Linked DNA regions of Homo sapiens: region 2 is linked to region 1. Evidence: promoter capture Hi-C in human tissues and cell types (Jung and others, 2019). All regions are on one chromosome and are shown on one strand. The core of a region is centred on a gene start or on the middle of the fragment in contact, and the rest is flanking DNA. Distances in the headings are between cores, read along the strand shown. Region 1 holds the start of TMC2 (transmembrane channel like 2). Region 2 overlaps LOC105372505 (a long non-coding RNA gene).

Region 1 (2,860 bases), core at 168-2,667:
CCCGGCTAATTTTTGCATTTTTAGTAGAGATGGGGTTTCACCATGTTGGCCAGACTGGTCCGGAACTCCCAACCCTAGGTGATCCGTCTGCCTTGGCCTCCCAAAATTCTGGGATTACAGGCGTGAACCACCACGCCCAGCCACAGACCGCTTTTCAGAACATAGACATTAAATCCATAAAATAAAACACTAGGATTACAAAGGAGACCAATGATCCTGAAATAGGCATCAAAATCACTTTAAATATCTTTCATATAATGACAATATATGCTTCCTAATTAAATAACAAGATTTCATGGCAGGTCTCTAACTATCATAATTTTGAAGTTGTGATAACATGTAAGATATTTTGAGACATCCCCAGTGGTTTAATTGGGAAAAAAAATAACTGTGACTTTTGCTGAGACAAAAATCACATCTTTGCTTACATTCATGATTGAGGGAAATGCTAAATCGCAGTTAAGGCTAGGAAAAGTGAAAGTGTAGTATTTTCTCCATCACTATTCACAAACCCACAGAATTCCATCCACAGCTCTGGGGGTTCCAGGGACTCCAGATTAAGAACTCCACACTCTGAGACCTTATGACTGCCTTCCAGAGGGTCCCTCTGACACTTTAGTGATGGTTTTCAAAGCAGCCAAATCTGTGCCTCCCTGAAGCCAGGGAGGAAAAGCTGCTGAGGGAGGGGGCGGGGGCTGAGCGGGAACATTCATCTGTGTGGGCTCAGGACGCCTGCAGCAGGATCCACAGTGCAGGCTCCCAGGGCCTGGCACAGACTGACTGATTCCAACGCCCAGTGCCACTCCTGGGAGTATGCATTTTATTTTTAAAAATTTATTATTATTATTTTTCTTTTTGTGGAGATGGGGTCTCACTACGTTGCACAGGCTGGTCTTGAGCTCTTGGGCTCAAGCAATCCTCCTGCCTCTGCCTTCCTAAGTGCTGAGATTACAGGTGTGAACCACCACATGCCAGAATCTGCATTTTAAACAGAAGCCCAAGTAATAACTTAAACAAACATTCTAGAATTTCCCTGGTGCTTTGTCCCAATCAGGGACTCAAGATAGTGGGAGAGGGCCTGGGATGCTCCTCACACCTCCTCTGGCTAGAGTGCCAGCGGCATCATTGCCAGGAGATAAGCCTGCAGCTCCTGGCCCCTCCAGGGCCCCTCATGTATAACTGATGCCTGAAACATGAGGCCATGCTGCCTCTTTGCAGGGAAACCTGAGAAGAGGAGTGTGTGGCCGGATTGATGGGCCGGGAACTCGTCGCCTTCCTTCACCCGTCTCTCTCCCCCAAACTTCACCCACCTCCACATTCAATCTCAAACCAAGAAGCCCCGCCTGCTGTCAGGTCTAGGAAGGGAGGCCAGCCACCATGAGGGCAGGAAAGCAGCCCAGGCTGAAGGCGTGCATACAGGAGCACGCTGCGTGAGCCTGTGCAGGACCCCAGCAGTGCTGCTGACCATGAGCCACCAGGTAAAGGGCCTGAAAGAGGAAGGTGAGTCCACGTCCTGATCCTGCGGGGCCCGCCCACAGGGTTCCTGGGCAGCAGCAGGGGATGGGGGAAGCACATATGGTGTTCAGAGGCATAGGGAGGAGCTGGGTTTGAGTCCAGGGCCTGTCCCCTGTGCGCTGAGCGACCTCGGCTGGTTATTCAACCTCTCTGATCCTCACGCATGAGATGGGGGTAGTCATCACCTCCTTGCAGGGCTACTGGAAGGATTCAAGACAACCTGTGCACAGCACCTGTGTTCAGGCCAGCACTGGAGACTGTCACGGCCGATGCATGCTCCTCAGAGCCTGCTGGGGCGTCTCAGCCACCTATTGTCTCGGTTAGGGTTGCCTGTTCCGAGCAAGCCCCTCAGCAGATTTCTATCTGTCTCTGTCTCTGTGCAGGGCAGGGGGTGGGGGATGTTCTGACCTCATGACTGACAGTATCAGACAAATGTGACAGGCAGGGGACTCTATAATTTGCTGAGTAAAATCATTGGAGCTGGGTCCCAGTTTGAGGCAGCCACAAATCAGCTGAGGGGTCCCACAGTGACCGGGGGTCTGCAGGGAGGGGGACTCACCAGAGGCCAGCCATTTGTCAGCAATCCTGTCTCTTACAGCACGAGGCGGAGTGAAAGGGCGGGTGAAGAGCGGCTCTCCACACACAGGTGAGATGGGGTGGTGGGGTCTCTGGGGAGCCTGCAGTGCCTGGGTGCCCTCTGCTTAGCCCAACAGTCCAGCCACCCATCCAACATTCTCCTTCATCTCCTTCCCTCTCATTCAACACCCTGCATGGAGCCTTCCTGGGAGGCAAGGTGTTTAACATGGGAGGGGGCAGAGTACCACTCAGAGAAGGTGCTGCTCAGCCCTCGGTGTCAGGGGAGACTCCCAGGGTTAGTGACACTCTGAGCTGAGCCTTGGGAAGCAGTGAACATTCACCAGACAGAGGGCAGGGAAGCTCGGTGCAGGCTTCTGGCGGGTGGTGTGGCCAGATTCACATCCAGGCCCCCGGACTCTAGGAGGAACACTCTTAACCTCCAAAAAGTAGTAGGCATAATGGGTGCTCCATCACCTTCCCACTGGGAATGTGACCACAGCTCTCCCGTGAGCCGGTGAGGGAGCCAACTTGCTCCAGGAGAAGTGGGAGAGCCCAAGGAAGCCATAGGCGGGAGAGAAAACCCTTGGTTGAGACTGAGGGTTCAGGGGAGAGGGGCAGAAGCCACACTCACAGGCTGGGCATCTTCATGTCACAAAATATTATGGATGCGATGCTGTTTTCTCCCCCTTCACGTCCCAGGCAGGGCTGGGTCCTGCGCCCCACACTAGTAGGCAAGAAACCAGAATCTTGGGGAGTGATGGGGTTCTGG
Region 2 (2,860 bases), core at 244-2,743, 110 kb after region 1:
TTATGTATTATTGTATGTAGTTTCTGTTCTGTGGGTTATAAATTTGGGAGTGGCTTAACTAGGCAGATGTGGTTCCGGATATTTCAGTCAAATTCTCAGCTAGGGCTACAATTATTGGAAGGTCTGACTGGGACTGAAAGATCTGCTCTCAACATGGCTCACACGTGACTGTTGGCAGGAGGCTTCTGTTCCTTGCTGGCTATTGATAGGGGACCTTGGTTACTCTCCATGTAGGCCTCTCCATAGAGCTGCTTGGGTGTCCTCACAACATGGCTGCTGGTTTCCCCCAGAGCAAGTGATCTGAGAGGGAGAGCAAGGAGGAAGCCACAATGCCTATTATGACCTAGTCTCAGAAGTCACACTATCAGTTCCACCACTTTTACTCATAGAACTGAGTCACTAAGTCTAGCTCACACTGGAAGGGAAGGGATTTAGGCTTCACTTCTTGAAGGGAGGGTTACCAAAGAATTTGTGGACATATTTTAACAGAAAATTTTCTAATTCAAATAATTACAAGACCTCTATCAAGACAACTCTGGCCAGGCGTGGTGGCTCATGCCTGTAATCCCAGCACTTTGGGAGGCCGAGGTGGGTGGATCACTTGAGGTCAGAAGTTTGAGACCAGCCTGGCCAACATGGTGAAACCTCGTCTCTACTAAAAATACAAAAATTAACCAGGTGTGGTGGTGCGCTTCTGTAATCCCAGCTACTTGGGAGGCTGAGGCAGGAGAATCGCTTGAACCCAGGAGGCGGAGGTTGCAGTGAGCCGAGATTGTACCACTGTACTCCAGCTTGGGTGACAGAGCAAGACTCCGTCTGAAAAGAAAAGAAAAAAAAGAAAGAAGAAAATTAACCATTTATCCAGAGAAATATAACTGGTGTCCTGCTGATATTACCCTAGTTTGGCTGCGCATTCCTAACTGGAGAGAAATGGAGCAGATGCTGGATTTTATCTGTTGGAAGCTATTTTTGTAGGCTGATCCTTTCACTTCTAATAACTTCAACTTCCATTTCTATTTCCTAAGAGCTCCATAGTACACAGAATCACATAAGTAGGAAGACACTTTAGATGAAGAAGATCAAAGGGGATACCTGGTCTCCCACTGATTTGCACACTCGCAGAAACTAAGGGGAGGGGCTGATGCACCAGCCAGTAAGGTGATCTGGGCAGGTTACCAATAGCACTCACTATGGTGGTAACGCTCAGCTCAGTAAAGTCACTTCAGACGTGCTCTGAAGTGGGTGGGTAGAGACCCACCCAAAGCTGGAGCACCAAGTTCCTCATGCTCAATAATGGACAATAAAAAATAAACCCGCCATGCAGAAAGAGACATGTATTTCTCTTGACCTTGGCAGAAAGTAGAGGAGAAAAAGTCTCCATTGAGAAGTTCTAGCCACAAGGCAGCTCTCACAGAGAGGCTCTAAATTCATATGCTACAGTTGACCCTTGAACAACACTGGGTCTAGGAGTGCTGACCCCCCTGCAGTCAAAAACCCATGTATAGCTTTTGACTTCCCCAGAAGTTAACTAATGGTAGTCTGCTGTTGAATGGAAGTTTTACTGATAACATAAAGTCAGTTAACACAAATTTTATATGTTACATGTATTAATACTGTATTCTTGCAATAGAATAAGCTAGCTAGGAAAAAATGTTATTAAGAAGATCATGAAGAGGAGAAAATATATTTAATATTCATCAAGCAAAAGTGGATCATCGTAAGTCTTCATCCTTGTCATCTTCATGCTGAGTAGGCTGAGGAGGAGGAGGAGGAGGAAGAAAAGGGGTCGGTCTTGCTGTCTTAGGGGTGGCAGAGATGGAAGAAAATCACATATAAGTGGATCTGTGAAGTTCAAACCCATGTTGTTCAAGGGTCAACTGTATCTGTATGTTCCAAAAAACTCAAATGAAAATTTTAATTTATTTTTTTCAAGACTTTCAGGCCAGGCGTGATGGCTCACACCTGTAATCCCAGCACTTTGGAAGGCCAAGACGGGTGGATCACAAGGTCAAGAGGCCGAGACCATCCTGTCCAACATGGTGAAACCCCGTCTCTACCAAAAATTCAAAAATCAGCTGGGCATGTTGGCTCATGCCTGTAATCCCAGCCACTCGAGAGGCTGAGGCAGGAGAATCGCTTGAACCCGGGAGGCGGAGGTTGTGGTGAGCCGAGATTGTACCATTGCACTCCAGTCTGGGCAACAAGAGCAAAACCCCATCTCAGAAAAGAAAAAAAAAAGTGGCATTAGGTTGATAGTGCCTCCAAAACAGGAAGAAAAAAGGCAAATAAACAAAAATAGCACAACAAATAAAATATAAAGCACATAAGACGAAAGAAATAAACCAAAATATATCAGGAATCAAAATAAATGCAAACGGACTAAACTTCTAGATAGAAGGCAAAGACTATCTGATGGAGATTTTAAAATCCTATAAGCTGTTCCCAAGAGATGACTTTAAAACTAAGGATAGAGGCCAGGCATGGTGGCTCATGCCTGTAATCCTAGCATTTTGGAGGCTGAGGCAAGTGGATTGCTTGAGCCCAGGAGTTCGAGACCAGCCTGGGCAAAATGGTGATACCCCATTTCTACAAAAAATACAAAAATTAGCCAGTGCATGCCTGTAGTTCCAACTACTCGGAAGGCTGAGATGGAAAGGATCGCTTGAGCCCAGGAGTCAGAGGTTGCAGTGAGCCGAGACCACACCACTGCACTACAGCCTGGGTGACAAAGTGAGGGACCCTGTCTCAAAAACAAAAATAAGATAGGAACTTTATCCCTTTTGATTCCTAGGGAATAAAAACTGAAGTATAATTTTCAATGGCAAAATCACCAGGTGTGTGAGTACCATCAAATATTCTA

The links. Contacts are between HindIII fragments. The study calls those that stand out against the background at their distance.
Region 2: a contact is called between a fragment that was not itself captured here and the fragment with the promoter of TMC2 in region 1, in 9 of the 25 tissues and cell types used here (H1 embryonic stem cells, dorsolateral prefrontal cortex, heart left ventricle and 6 more).

Annotation. Positions count from the first base shown.
Region 1 is chr20:2,535,156-2,538,015 of GRCh38, forward strand. TMC2 (transmembrane channel like 2) reads left to right here and starts at 1,418. Exons shown (of 20, transcript NM_080751.3): 1 at 1,418-1,500; 2 at 2,114-2,161. The coding sequence starts at 1,467. All of the region lies in intron 2 of LOC105372504 (a long non-coding RNA gene), which reads right to left. The HindIII fragment of the contact is 10,824 bases long and covers 1-2,860 here.
Region 2 is chr20:2,643,566-2,646,425 of GRCh38, forward strand. It overlaps LOC105372505 (a long non-coding RNA gene), which reads right to left. Exons shown (of 5, transcript XR_007067502.1): 2 at 163-816. It overlaps TMC2 (transmembrane channel like 2), which reads left to right. Exons shown (of 20, transcript NM_080751.3): 20 at 1-15. Among named protein-coding and RNA genes, the nearest start is that of NOP56, 7.6 kb to the right of the region's middle. The HindIII fragment of the contact is 9,020 bases long and covers 1-2,860 here.